2 separate regions of the Homo sapiens genome follow, and region 1 is linked to region 2. The links are contacts of gene promoters, found by promoter capture Hi-C in human tissues and cell types (Jung and others, 2019). All regions are on one chromosome and are shown on one strand. The core of a region is centred on a gene start or on the middle of the fragment in contact, and the rest is flanking DNA. Distances in the headings are between cores, read along the strand shown.

What was found. The method cuts DNA at HindIII sites, captures the fragments that hold promoters and counts their contacts. A contact is called where the count stands out against the background at its distance.
Region 1: a contact is called between a fragment that was not itself captured here and the fragment with the promoter of NAT2 in region 2, in 1 of the 25 tissues and cell types used here (H1 embryonic stem cells).

Annotation. Positions count from the first base shown.
Region 1 is chr8:18,679,200-18,687,018 of GRCh38, reverse strand. The region is part of intron 9 of PSD3 (pleckstrin and Sec7 domain containing 3); the gene reads left to right. Among named protein-coding and RNA genes, the nearest start is that of PSD3-AS1, 38 kb to the left of the region's middle. RefSeq lists an enhancer at 7,427-7,819. The HindIII fragment of the contact is 5,096 bases long and covers 724-5,819 here.
Region 2 is chr8:18,386,573-18,393,958 of GRCh38, reverse strand. It overlaps NAT2 (N-acetyltransferase 2), which reads right to left and starts at 2,677. Exons shown (of 2, transcript NM_000015.3): 1 at 2,614-2,677. The HindIII fragment of the contact is 11,595 bases long and covers 301-7,386 here.

The DNA of each region.
Region 1 (7,819 bases), core at 2,022-4,521, 290 kb before region 2:
GTGCCCTGAAGTCACAGAAGTAGGGGTTTTGGTGGCAAATGAATGACTAGGGTGGAGCTGGGCTGCTGTTTAAGGAAGGATGGTCACAGAAGGTCCTTTTGGAAAAAGATACTGAGCTGACTGCTGAATGAGGAGAAGCCAGCTTAGTAGTGAATCAGGATGGGGCAACAGAGTTCCAGACAGGATGACAGCAGATGGAGGGTCATTCGGGAAAGCTTCAGAAAGGAGGCAAGCTTGCCTTCCATGCATGGGCTGAGTGGAAGCTAAAGTGCCACGCACTCACCTGGAATGAAGAGTCAGGCCTGACTGACAAAGATAAGAAGAGTGAGAAGCGGTTGGGATTAAGTTTAGGTCAGTAGGATGAGGCCTGAGCATCAAGGGCCCCTGGATGCTGAGGTCTGTACAGCTTTTTCAGGTACCTCTTGAGACATACTCAGATATGTCGCAGGGATCATCTGCTGTGAGACTGCTAGCAGCATTGTAGGAGTTCTCTTCACTCTGTCCACGTAGAAATACGTGTTCTGCAACAGAGAGTAAAAGGCAGGAGCAGAAGAAAACTTTCTCTCCCTGACTTGCAGAAAAGCTCATGGCAGGTTTAAAAAGGACAGGGCAATGCAGACAGCTATAGTGTGAGGGACACAGCGTGGTTCCTGGTATACTTCATGCGAGAATCTGCATGCTGGCTCTGTGATAGCGTCCTCATCAGGAAAGTGGGGATTGCAATATTACCTCAACCCACTTCGCAGAATTGTCATGTTGAGAGTGAAAACAAGAGAACAAGTGGCTTCTGTAAGGTATTAGGTGTTAAACAGATCGATGAAAGTGGTTATTAGTGGAGACAGTACAGGAGTAACGTCAATTGGGCAGTCTTTGGGTAAAGATGGCGTCCTTCTGCTAAACCTCCCAGAAATGACATGTATCAGATTCCATTTCTGTACATCCTACCATATGGTTTTAGTTTTTGTTGTTGTTGTTGTTGTTTGTTTGTTTGTTTTTTAATCTAACCATTTTGGTGGAGAAAAGAAAGTTCATCAGGAGATAGTTTATAACTCCTCATTATGATGACTGACAAATATCCAAAGGGCATGTTTCTTTTAAGCCCGTGCACTGTCTTTATCCCCACACAGAGGCAGGCGCTCATGTCTTTTACACGGGACATTTTGAATTTTTATCTTTATTATGGTATTAGTTTCTTACTGGGTTCCACCTCAAGCTTACTTTTGTTAACTGGAGATCTTTACCTGTAGACTCGTCGTCTGCTTAAGTTAGAACTAAGTCTATTCCAAATGATCGATTTTATTTTACTGCTATAGTACACCACTTTTTATGTCTTTGGAATATGCTTTGTAAAATAGTAACTTTACAGAATTTTTCTTAATTCTGAGAAACAGTTATTTGGTAGCTTCAGTTTCCTAAGAAGAGAGGAAAATGTACCTCAAAGGACAGGAGAGTCCCCAAGATCTTCCAAAACCTATTCCAAAAATAATCTATTATTATTTTAGATGGTAACATTTTACCAATATTAATGTCTTCGTCTTCTTTATAGCACAATAGAAGCACTAAGTGCTTTAAAAATAGGAGATGAAAAGTTAAAAAAAAAAAATGTAAAGGATATAGGAAGAAAGCCCCTGTCATGAGGATGCAACAAAACCCAAGGGTCAAACATCACCCTCTGCTGGGCCTGTTGACAGTAGAGGGAAACAGTTACCTGACATTAAAACATAACTTTAGTAATTAAAGTTTAAGAATTACTTTAAACCATTTTTTAAAAAATTAATTATCTCAAATAATGCTCAAGAACACCAGTGCGTTGCAAAATTTGAACATTGGTACATTGTAAAAAAAAGTGTATACATTCTTGAGTTGTAAAGGAAAAGTTTAAATCTGAGGGGTGGGATGGATTGAGGCTGACGTTTTTCCCAGAGTGGTCTTTGTAAACAATGTTTAAGTTTTGTTATTTATATTAACACGAAAGCCTCCTTTATCTGGAGAACACGCTTATGTGGCTGAGCCTCTGTCCCTGGGATGCCAGATAGTGAGACATCGCAATCCTGAGTAGTATGCTCAAAACTCACTTCATATGTTAGGAGCTAAAATGGTCTTGTTTTCTAGTAATCTCCAGTTTGTGATTCGTACTCAGAGGCTTGCACATTGCTGTGTACACTGACAGAACATTGATGGCTTTTGGAAAAGCTGCTTGCTGCTTGTTGCCCGGAGTTAGCTTTATTGCTCTCACTCTGTGCCATATTGAAAGTTAACCTGTGCTAACCCCCCAGTCATTTTCTCAGTCTCCTAGAGAGGTAACAGAACATCTTTATTCTGGATTTGCCGTACACACTGACATAATTCCTCTTGAAATATCTGGCTGTCGTAGTCTAAGGTCATAAGAAACATTTAATTCTTCAGAATGGCAACATAATTTGAATTGCTGTCAAACAGTGTGTGGCCTGAAACGGGAAAGAAAGGAAAATTATTGATCATTGAGATGCCTTTGTGTCTCGCATCGTTTCACTAGCCTGTAATTAATTGAGCCTTTTGACGTCCATCCATATTTTTTTTCTTCCTTGTGGAAATTCAGCTACGTTCCCACCCCACATGGTGCCTTGGAGATTACTTGAGACTTTTATTTGTGGTATCTCTATTTGGTTGTTGACATTAATGAGCTTACTTCACAAATATCACAAGAGAAATAGTGTTGCTTTTTGGAATGTTAATGAATTGCTTGCCTGGCCAATTGCCATTCGTTCCAGTGTGTGAATATGATGGGGTGTGTGTGTGTGTGTGTGTGTGTGTGTGTGTGTGTGTGTGTGTGTGGAAAAGAGAGACGAGTAGCAGGGGTGGATTGCATTTTTTTCCTCTTTGCAGCCAGTGACGTGAGCTGTGCCTGGAACAATCAGACTCGCTGCAAACAGGGTAGTTGAAGATGCTGGGGGAGGCAGCCTGGTGCTTCTTAAGCTAACGCGGATCACGGCGCTCAGGAGCTGCTCAGGCACAACCCCGCAGAGTTCCTCCAGCGTGAGAGCCTTGGAACGGTTGGAAAGTGCCTTTTTATTTCTCTAAACCCCTTCCTTAGTTGACCTTCGAAAATGATTGGCGTGAATAGTGTCCAGAGTGCCAGCAAGGTACGGGTGAGGACCTCAGGTTCCGTGAAATACTCCCGGGAGGATTCTATCCGGCGGCAGTCTCACAGGTCAAAGTCCATGAAAATTTCCAACTCCTCAGAGTTTTCTGCTAAGGAGAACAAGGTAAAGAAATACCACATTGAACCTTATTGACAGCTGTGTGGCAGGGCAACAGAATTGGATAGTCTTTGGCAGTGTCTAATGTGCAGTGATAGACTGAGAAAGTAACGAGGAGTATAAAATGGTTCTAAGAGAATCAGGTGCGATCAGGTGAAACGGATGGGACCTGAACTCCAGATACAAAGATGCTGTGGCATGGGTCAGTTTTGTAAAGAGCCAGTTTGTGGAAGAGATGGGCGAAAGCCGTGCTCAAAATGAGATGACTGTGGGAAACTGTTGTTTGGCACATCGATCTTGTTTTTGGTCTCAGAAAGGTTGCCTTGACAAATGATTTTTCAGTGCGGAGTATTTTTAGAACATCAGGAATACAGAGATATTGTGTATGATTTTATCTTTCAGTTAGTTCCTTTTTCCTTTCCTCCCCTGGTCTTCCCCCAGCCCCCAGTCTGTGGAGCTGATGTACAAGTATGACCTGGTCCTATTATACTACATTCATGTCAGGTTTAGAGTGGTTAGCCCCAGGCATATGTAATGAAGAGAAATTTCTTCTTTCATGTTCCTTACACATATATGTGCTGATGCTATGCTGCCATGAAACCACTCGTGTTTTTGCAGCTGTCTTGAAGATAATATAATCTTTGTTCGTGTGAAATGTGAAGGGAGTGATTACGTAGTGAAGTGGGCATTTACTACATGCAACATATTCTTGAGATTCTTCCCACCACCATCTGTGTGAGCAGGGTACTCAGAAACACTCCCACTCCACAGGTTTAAAAATGGAATAATAGAATCATAGGATCACAGAACTCCAGGTCTGGAGATGGAGATGATTATAACGGAGATTCATGGGCTTGATAATGTGCAGAGAGAGCGTCAGGAGGTGGATCTCAGTGTCATTTCAGCCTTCTCGGGGTTATATCCAGACCCACTGAGAGTGACATCAGGCTTTCTTCACCCTCCCACCACTCCCCACTGCCCTCCTCCTCTGCTACCTCCCCATCCCTGTGTGACATAACATTATTGAAAGACTTTGGCATTAACAGGTTCCCCTCAAAATATGGCAGGGGACAGGTGGCAAAATACCTTAGTGTGACTTTAAGAAATATGTTGGCTTCCTATTCACCCCCTTACATTATGACATAGTGGAGTCTGACCCCCTCCGTCATTAGCAAATTGCCTGGCTCCAGTAAGTCTTCAAATCTGGCTTTTTACTCCTCACTGTTTTTTTAAAAAGCTTTATCTTTAGAGAGAAACGTGTCTTCAAAGTCCTTTAATGTGACCTGTATAGGGATGTGTTGGCTTCTACTGAAAGTGTTATGAGACCACCTGTGGTGTCAGGACTGCGGTCTCCTGCTGAAATAGACCAGAATGGTTTATCATATTCTTAAATAAATGTATGTGAGCATGTATGTAATTCTCAACATGGCTATAAAATTGGCTTCTATAAGAGCACTAAGAGACGTCTCTGGATTTTGTTTTGGATGTTTTAATGTGGAGTATACCCATGGTATGCAGTCAGAGGCTATGGGAAATTAAGAGCTCATCATCCTTAACTCTGTTGTAGTCCTACTACCTATCCTCATGATAATTTAGGCATTGTAATATTAGTGGGTTCACCCAGAATTATGGTTGTGTAGTGTAATGTTGGAATCCAGCATAGATACCACATGAAAAGATTCTCTACTGTCCTCTGTGTTTGTCACACAGTACAGGTACTTTTACTTGATATGTATCTGTGGAAGAGAAGGCCAAGCACTTTTTTTTTTTTTTTTTGAATATTGCAAACGCCGCAGGAGTTAACAGTATAAAAGGCCACTGGTAGAACTGTAGTCAGTAGGCCATCACATGATACCTTAAAGATTATAGTCGGTTTTTAAGAGATGATTAGTATTTTTTTGAGGCATATGTGGTCCCTAAGTTACAGAATATGTGTTCAAGGATATAGCCAAGCTCCCAATATCTCACAAGAGATATTTTTAGGATTATCTAGTGGCTTAAAATTGAACACCAGAGCTAAGAGAAAATCAGTAGAATAGAATATTCTATCAGAGTGACCCTAATCATTGACTAGCCATTTATATTCCCTAAATGAAATAAACTGAATAATATGACAGGCTTGTACCCTAAATTACTGAACTTAATTATACTATAATAGACATGTGTAAAATGTTGATTTAAGCATCACTTCTCCCATTTTTATCCACAGTTACACGTTTTCCTCCAATTTTAATCAGAATTTTCATTGATCTTACTTGTATCTAGTAGTATTTTTTAGCCCTTAAATCAGTGTTTCTTCTTCCTCCTCTTCTTTTTTTTTTTTTTTTTTTTTTGAAACAGAAACAATGTCTCAGTATGTTGCCCAGGTTGGTCTCCAACTCCTGGGCTCAAGCAGTCCTTCCACCTCTGCCTCCCAAAGTATTGGGATGATAGGCACGAGCTACTGCACCCAGCTGGTATTTCTTCTTGCTAATCATGTAAACAGCATTTTTGATTATCTGACTCTTTCATCCAAAATGCAGGATGTCTAATTTGATGATTAGAAGATCCCCATTGCCACCTCTCTCCACCCTCTCATGTCATCTTCCCAACCTGTAAAAAATAAGATACCATTAACTCGTGGTTCGCTCCTGGGATTTAATGTTATCTTTCTAGAACTCTGGCTCTTTCTAGAATAGGTGTAATAATTGCTTCTCCTTGTCAGAGTTGGAATTACATGTTTTGTATTCTTTGAAACTTTCATCTTTGATGTTTCCAGCTTGTTTTCTTGGCCATTAAAACATAATGGTTTATTCAAATATTAATTATCTGTAGTCCTCACTTGTTCTCTGATTTATTCATATTCATTTGAAAAAAAGTGTTAAAGGACTGTGGAAAGGATTAGAAGTTTTGCTTTTAATTTTAGTGAGATATCTTAAATGCTTTTCTTGGTCTAAATATTTTAAATTAAGAAAATTGAATTTTCCAGTACTTTATGGTTCATATTGACCTCGTCTGAAGAATATTATTTAACCTACTAAAATTCAGCTTATAGATGTTATTTTCTTTAAAACCCCCTTCTCCGTGTTGACTTTTTTTCTTTATTCTGTGTTTAAATCTTACCATTTCCTCTAGAGAGAGTGTGGCTTTGTCTTTTTCTCGATAATAATGTTTGTATCAACCTCTGAAGCACATAATATGGGCAGGATGCAAATCTGAATATGTTTTGGAAGAACATGTGTTTCGTGGAGACCGGCATTCATTATTAAAATTAATGAAGTCTGACTGAGCTCAGCTCTTCATTGGGTGTCTGTTATTGGAAGAGTTACTAGCAAGGCTTCTGGCCATGAGGGGGCAGTGCAGACCTTCCTGCTGTCAGATCCAGCTGGTTGCTCTGCCTTTGACAGAAGTAACATTTTAGAATCAATTAGATTCTAATTGATTTCTAATTTAGAAACAATTTCCTAAAAGTAGAATACAATCAGCCCCGGGTATTCGGGTACCCTTGGGGTTTCAAAACCCATGGATATGGAGGGCCAACTGTACTCCAGAATTTGGAATGTGCAGTATTAGAAAATGTTGATTTAAGCCTCAGTTCTCCCAGACATTTCCACAGTCCTCCTCTGAGTCTAAATATTTGTCAAATATAAATTATTCTAGTACTAATTTTTAACTTATGGTTTAAAACATAAATCTGTAAAAGTTCATGTTGATAAACACTCTTTTCTTCCCCATCTCTTGCCAAACTACGTGATACCGTTTAAATGAGGCGGAATCTCAAACTGTTGTTTCTTTATGTTGTTGTAGGTGAATGTCACATGAGTGGATTAATATAACATGCGTGGCTGAATCCTTGAGGCCTTTTTTGAGGAATAAGCATGATGCTAGAGATTAGATCAAGAATTCTCTAGTTAATAATGTTGATTCAAGTGAACCGTTTAAAGCTTTTATTCAGTGATATAGCAAAGAAATCAATTTCTGTGACACCGAAATTTCAAGAACTTCCAGTAAAGTACTGGTACTTTGGTTGGTGCATAGTGAAACATTGGCCTGTTGGTTTCTCAGTCAGGATGCCGCATCCTGGCGGGCTACCCTGGTTTTGCTTTCTAAGTAGCAATGTTCACCTAGACAAGTTACTTCACCTCCCCAAGACTCATCCCTAAAATGCAGGGTTTTGACAAAATGATATCTTTGTTCTGAACACTGTTAATTTTAGAAATCTTGCCGAGGTTGGTGGGGTTATTTCCTCTGTGGAAGGAACCTTAAAGACTGAGCTAGATTTAACAAAGGTAGTTTTATATGTATTCTGAATAAACCTCTTCCTGTACTAGGAGATGTTAACCATAAACGTGTTAAAGGAAAATGGAAGTCCTTTGCTCCAAACCTCTGCTCTGCTAAGTGCCTAATCCATTGCTTTTTAAAAACGTGTTGCAATAATGTTGAAAGGCACCATCACCTCTATTCTCCCCATTCTGCTTAGGCTTCACTTGCTGTTTCCTTTGCATTGTTAGATAACTGCTAATCATTGCTTCCTCTGTGAGTTAAAGCTATACACAAAGAAACCTGAAGAAATCATTACAATGGCCCTTTGCGACCTGAAG
Region 2 (7,386 bases), core at 1,428-3,927:
CACGGATGTGCATGAAACTATGTCTTTCATAAAATTGAAGAACTGGAAGCAGAAATACTATGTTTCAAAAACTATAGTGTATCTGTTAGTATCTTCTAGCCTTGCCCATTGTTTTTTCAGTTTTTATTATTTTTTACAAGTTAGACCAAATCCTGAATTTTTTTCTGGCTACAAGTCTGCAAAGTAACATTTTCAACGTTTTCTCCCATTTTTCTTACTTGAATTCACTAGAAATTAAAACTGGGGTTTTCTTAAAGTCTTGCAAACTGAAGGTATCAGGAGAAAATAACAGTAACTTATAAACAACCTTCATGCATATCTGCTGATGTGAGGCCTTCTCAGAAAGTTCAGTGGAACACCTGGTTTGAACTTCCAGGGAAATCTGGGACATTGCCACTGCAATATGAAGACGCCTCAGAGAAAAAGCTATAGACTAGCTTTTCTAGATATATAGACTACTCCAGATAGTAACATTTATTTATTTATTTTTTTCTGTTTCTACAGAAATGCCTCCTACTAGAAATCTGATTGCCTACATTACGTCTAAAGGCCTAAACCATTTGCAGTCCCACCTCCTGGAATGGGACGTAGATATTTAACTGAACTGATCTCACCTCAAAACCAAGGGACTGCCTAAAGAAAATATGGAATGATATATTTAAATTTGCTCATTTATATTTATCCCAAATGTGTTTTTCCACTGCTATGACTGTCTCTATCTAAACACCTCTAACTTAAATCTCCCCAAAGCTATTACCTTGGCTTTTAGTATGTGAAACTTGTTTTAAATTTCAAAGTGGGGACTGAAGAAAATCAAAATATTTTACCCTCAAATATATTTCTTTGACATATTTAAAAATGGTTTCCACTGGCCAACAAGCAGAAGTGGCATTGCAAAACTGTCTTAACTGAGGAAAATTTGCGTCTGTGGACAATGTCCATTAATGCAGCCATACCCTCTCCTGTTTCTAAGCCTTTCCCAGGATCCAGAGCGATTGAGAGTCTGACACCTTTAAAGATCTGGATAGAAACATTTACCATCTTTTGCTTCTGAGAAAAGGTTCGTCTACATAACAAGGCCACCTTTGCTAGCCGAGCTTCTTCCTTCCTCTCTCTCTTAACCTGTGTTGCCACTAAAACTAATTTACCTGTTTCTGGCCATGCTTTGAGTCTCCACTCTTTACTGTGGCCTCGGAATAATACATGAGTTTCTGTAACTTACTGGGAAGTTGGGTCTTCATTCTCAAGTTTCCCAAGTGTGGTGGTTAATATTGAGTGTCAACTTGATTGGATTGAAGGATTCAAAGTATTGTTCCTGGGTGTGTCTGTGAGGGTGTTGCCAAAGGAAATTAACATTTGAATCAGTGGACTGAGAAAGGGAGGCCCACCCTCAATCCGGGTGGGCACCATCTAATCAGCTGCCAGCACAGCCAGAATGAAAGTAGGCAGAAGAATGTGGAAAGACTAGACTGGCTTAGTCTCCCAGCCTACATCTTTCTCCTGTGCTGGATGCTTCCTGCCCTCAAACATCAAACTCCAAGTTCTTCAGCCTTTGGACTCCTGGACCTTTGACCACAGACTGAAGGCTGCACTGTCGGCTTCCCTACTTTTGAGGTTTTGGGACTCGGACTGGCTTCCTTGCTCCTCAGCTTGCAGACGGCCTACTGTGGGACGTCACCTTGTGATCATGTGACTCACTACTCCTTAATAAACTCCCCTTTATGTATACATCTATCCTATTAGTTCTGGCCCTCTAAAGGGTCCTGGCTAATAGACCATGTATATACATTAAATAAATTTGTACTCCCTTTCCCCTATTAATCAACCTGTCACATGACAGTGACTTTTAGTGAAGCTTTAGGGGGCCAACAGCCTATGGCCCCCACATAAGGTATACATTGGCTCTGCCTGAAAATCAGACATATTGAAGTAGGAGAGCTTACAGGACAAAGGTGGATTCAAAGATTTTGTGATTGGCAATTTGTTGAAGAGTTAAGTTTTGTCTAAAGACTTGCGGTCAGTACAATTAAATGCTTGAGTTAAAAGGGCTTATGGGAACCATGGTTTATGTCATGTAGATGAAACCTCCAGCTAGCAGCCTTAGAGAAAACAGATGGTAAATATCTCTTTTCAGATTTTTAAGGTGTCAGACTCTCATTTATTCTCTCCTCAATCAGAGCAGAGCCAGAAACCAGCAAATTTCCCCATAAAAGATGGTTTTGCAAGACCATTTCAATATGTGTCAAAGAAATATATTTTGGGGATTAAATATATTGATTTCCTTCAGGGTCTGCTATTGTCATGTGATGCTAAACCAGAGTCAGATTGGAATTTGGTATCTTATTCCCACAAACAGTCCATTTTGACAGTCTTATGATCACTGTTTCAATGTTAATGCTGGTCAGTTGTGCCTGAACTCCAAAAGGGAGTGTGTATAATGAGGCGTGTCTGACCTCCCTTTCCATTATGGCCTGGAATTTAGTTTTCCAGGTTTCTCTGGGGTCGCCTAGGACAAGAGGGGATCCATTCAGTCAGTAGGGGGACTTGATTTTATTTTTAATTTATACCCCACTTTCAAAGTACACTGCAAATTACTTACAAAGTTCTACTTACTTTGGCCAGCAACCAGGAACTAGGCTGAATGCAATCCTCTTGCTTCCAAGGTCTGTAATAAAGTGCTCTCCCTTCCAAAGTCTGCAAGGGAAGTGATCTCACTGGAATTCCGTATCACCCTGACACCAGAGTCTAGTTAGGATCACCTCAGGGATCTCTGGGAAATGTAGTTGCAGGGCCTCAGGTTGCCTCTGTGAATCTCTTACGCAAATCTTTTTGTTAAAAATGGTGTGGATAATTATATTATCTGATGATACCCATGCCACAGGCTAGGAGAGCTGTGCCCTTGTATTTCACCTAGTTCTTGCTCTCTGGAAGTCTGATGCCAGACTTCCCATGTGTGATATAGAAGGTGAGAGCTTGAAACAGGTCAAGGAACAGCAGAACCAATAACTTAGAAGCGGCAGAAGAGGAAGATGAAAGGTTTTAGTCATACTCTCAGTTTATGGCACACTTTCATCACTTCCTATAAGGCCTCTCTTTTTCTTCTGCCTCTTTTCATCTCTCATCCTCACTCTCATTCACTTCTCTACCCAAAGGTAACACACAATGTGTCTGAAATAACTCTATGCATGTGGTATAAGTGTCACATGTATCATATGGCTTTGTTTCTGCTTTTTTGACATTAACATTAATGTAAATTTTTATTTCTCCTAGCCTGTGGCATGGGTATCATCAGATAATATAATTATCCACACCATATTTAATGAAAAGATTTGTGTAAATTTTTATTTACATTAATATTAATATAAAATATAAACATTGTATATAATGTTTTTTGACACATAACAATTGTATATATTTATTTGGTAGTGTGTGATGTTCTGATACATGCAGACATTGTGTAAAGATCAAATCATGGTAATTAGCATGTCTGTCACCTCAAACATTTATCATCTCTTTGTCATGAGAACATTCAAAATCCTTCCTTCTAGCTTTTTTTCTAGCTTCCATACCCTCTTTTCTCTCCAGTAACAACTCTTAACTTTCTACTACTCTAACTATTCTACTCTTAACTTCTATGAGCTAAATTACTTTTAGATTCCACATATGAGTGAGATGTGCAGTTTTCATGATGTAATTGTTGCCTTTAGCACCTACTGTTCCAGTACATACCTCTGGCATGCTGCCACATGAACTCGGGACTCTGTGGGAAGGCTTTCTTTTGGCCTGTGCTTGGGCAGATGGACTACAAATTAAAGCACCTGGGACCACCACTCAGCCCACATGATGGGAACTGGAGACTAAATATCCTTGTGTTCTACATGCTAAGGTGGGATTACTCTTAGGCATGTACAAAACTGCCTCCTGGTGTTGTCTACTGGGATTATGCTCCCTTTCTTTGCAGGCAGCCTGCCAACAATGCACCTTTTTATTGATCTCAAGGTGTCTTGGGTTCACTGTTATACTCCCGCACTGGTGATTCCTTAAATCATCTCCTAAATCAAAATAAGCCACTGGAATACAAATCTTTGTCTTGTGGCCTGGTTTTAGAGAAACCCAACCTAAGTCTCTTTAACTTACCAGTTCCACTTGTGAAGGACATTTGATTGCCTCCTACTCCTGGTTATTATAAACACTGATGTGATGAATGCGTTTCTAGACATCCTCTGCAGATTAGCAGAACTCGCTGGGATATATGTATTAGGAATGGGATCTGCGGAGGGGCAGATCATAGATGTACTTTTTCTTTTGGCACTGCCAGATTTCTGTCCTCTTGTATAGAAGAATTCCTACTTTCCTCATATCCTGATTGACATTTGGTGTTAGCCACCTTCAAATGTTTGACAGTTTTGTGTATCTAAGATGATAGCTCAGTGTTCTTTTCATTTTCACTTCTCTGATTCCCAGTGAATACGGGTGAATAGGTTCTTCACATACCTATTGACCCTTCACATTTCCATTTGTGAATTAAATGGCAAGGTTTTAAGAAAGAATTCCTTCTGCCAAATTAGTCGGGACACACAGGCGAAGAGAGATGGATTAAAATTCAGATCTTGCTAGAAAATCTTTGGCCAAGGTGGGGTGAGAGAGAAGCAGAGGAAATAATTCCAGCATGTAGGACTGTGATCTGGACCATTTTTGACTGAGTGTGGGAGAGGAATTGTCAATGGATTATGGTCATTTTTCTCCTTGATTGTTGGAAACCTGACACCTGGAATTAAAATGTTGCAATCCAGATTGGCACATGTGTAATTCTGAGATTGCCTCTAATTATTGTCAGTTTGACAGAGATCCTTGAGGATGTCCAGCAAGAACCGTCATGGGAAACTATGAGATGAGGAGACTTGTGACTAAGGGAGAGTAAGACCAGAGTCAAGGATCCTGGTGTCCAAGGGAAGAAACACCTGAGGCTGGGAGTGTGAGATGTCAGAGAGCTTGAGAATACCCTACAGCCTCCCACAGGGTGGTCATCAAGACCTTCAAACCAAAATTTGACTTCATCAAAGTTTTTTATGTGGAAGAAGAGCAGAATTGGGGAATACCTGAGCTGTCACTGAGTACTTCCTCACCATACAAGTAAGAGATACAGAGATGGGCTGGGCAACAACAGTGATACCATAAAGAAAAGCTCCTTCTTCACTGTGACTTATACACGTAGAAAGCATGTTGTTTGTGTCTTTAAAGAAAAGCATTAGAGTTAGTTATGTCTAGTTTACAGATTCTCACATGTGCTAACTCACTTTTATGTCAAGATTCTAAAGTTTGATAATTGACTGTTTCCTTGCTAACAACAAAACTTATATTTTTGCAGAGAAAGAAATAAATGTTCTTCCTTTCCTGATCTTCTCTGAAGAAGGGTTCTATATCCAAGCTAATTTTTTTTTTTTTTTTTTTTTTGCTTATTATCTACTTTAACATTTAGCATAACTTCTGGTTTTCACTTCAACAAGTAAAGTTTGGGATAATCCCTCCCATCTTCTCATCAATGAGAAAACTAAACAAACTGAAAATAAATCTTCTCAGATCCATGACAGAATTGAAGTCACAGCAAAGTGCTGTCCTGAAAAGAGACAGACAGTTAAAGACAGATAATCACAATTTATTCTCAATTCTAGAAACTAAAGCCCAGGTTCAGAGGACCACAGATGAAGCCAGTATTTTTAGCAACATACAAACATGTAATAATTCATGAATTGTTGAGACTCAGTGTAGACAAACTTGACAGTTTAAAACTCTTGGGTGCTCAGTCTCAGAAGGTCTTCACACTTTTGTGTTTTACCTCCAGGATGCCCACCAAGTTCTCACTGTGAATACTGGAGAATAGTCTCTTCATGCTCCTGGCAGAAGGTGGAGAAAAATAACCATTGTGATATAAGTCCAGAGCATTCTGGTCCTCCTTCCCTTAAGGGAAATTACAAGGGCCTAACTGAAGTGAGGTAAGAGAAACATTCAACTCCAACCCTTCTAGCATTCCTGTCTCAGACCTAAGTGGAGGGGAGGGGGGAATGGATGCTGAGAAGCACTTTCGAAAGTCACGTCCCAGGGCAAACGCTCACTAGAAGATAGCGACCTCATCAAAGGCCTGTACAATGGTTCTCTTTCCCCCATACATTAAAACCACTGCGACTGCAGGAGGAAATACAGGAGGCCCGGGGCCAGGACAATGCTAAGGAGCTGAGGCCAAGCGCTTTGGAGAAAAGGCGACGAGAGAAGGAGCGGGACCGGAAGAGGAAGCGAAAGAGCTGCGGCAAAAAGGGAAGGGAGCAAAGGCCAAGGCCGAGAGGGCCGAGGGCCGGGGCGGCGATCAAGCCCACCCAGAGGTGGCCTGCAAGGAGCCGCAGGAGCCGTCGGGGCTGGTCGTCCACAAGGTGGAGGTGAATGAGCACGAGCCGGCCAGCAAGGCGCAAAGAGGAGGAACAGGCAGGAGCTGAAGGGGAGCCTCGCGCAGCGGAAAGGGAGGAAGTCCGGGCGCTGCTGAACTCCGGGGCCGGGACCAGCGGAAGGCACGAGAGCTGGAGGCCAACGTGAAGGGGCCGCGGACAGACCTGCCGAACCAGGCGGAGGGCGCGACAATCCGGAACGCCTAGCGCCTGCCCTAGGGGCTTGAGGCGCAGGGAGAAGCGCGGGAGCGGCGGCGGCGGCGCCGCCAGCGGGAGGAGCGCGGGGCGGACGAGGTGGAGAAGAAGCGGCGGCGCCAAAACCTAAGCAGGAAGAAGGCGGCCAGCTCCCCGCGCTCCCTGCACTGGGCCCGCAAGGGGACGATCCCGTCCAGGACCTGGAGCGCGCCGGCCTCGTGGGGGCGCCCGAGGGCTCCCCCCTTCCCCCACCCCAGGCCCAGCGTGTCCCTGGCCTGGGCCTTTCCCACCTGGGGCTGCCGTCTCTGTCCCGCGAGTCTCGAGGAGCCCCTCCGAGTCCTTGTGTGATGCCGGCTCCTCACTCAACCTCCGTGGAACTCGGCTTCTCCATGTGAAAGGGACACAGTCTTGCTCACCTGAGTTGTGAGGCCTCAGATCAGGCACGCAGAAAAGAATGTTTCAGCGTCGTCCTTGAACACAGGGCGCAGATCCTTCAGACCCTAGGGAAAGAGTGAACCAGATCCGGCCCTCCAGTCTTCTCTGTGAGGCCTGAGAGCTTCCCAGAGGTTTGCAGAGTCAGAGAAGAGGAACCTTGGTACGGGTGGGTGGGAGGAGTTTGGGGTGAGACAATCACTGGCCCTTCTTCCCCTGCCCGTGTTCACAGGGGCCATAGGACAGGAAGAGAATGTCCTTTGCCAATTATCCGCCTTAGTCCAAAACTCACTGGAAGGGAGGACAACCCCGGGGTGGGGTG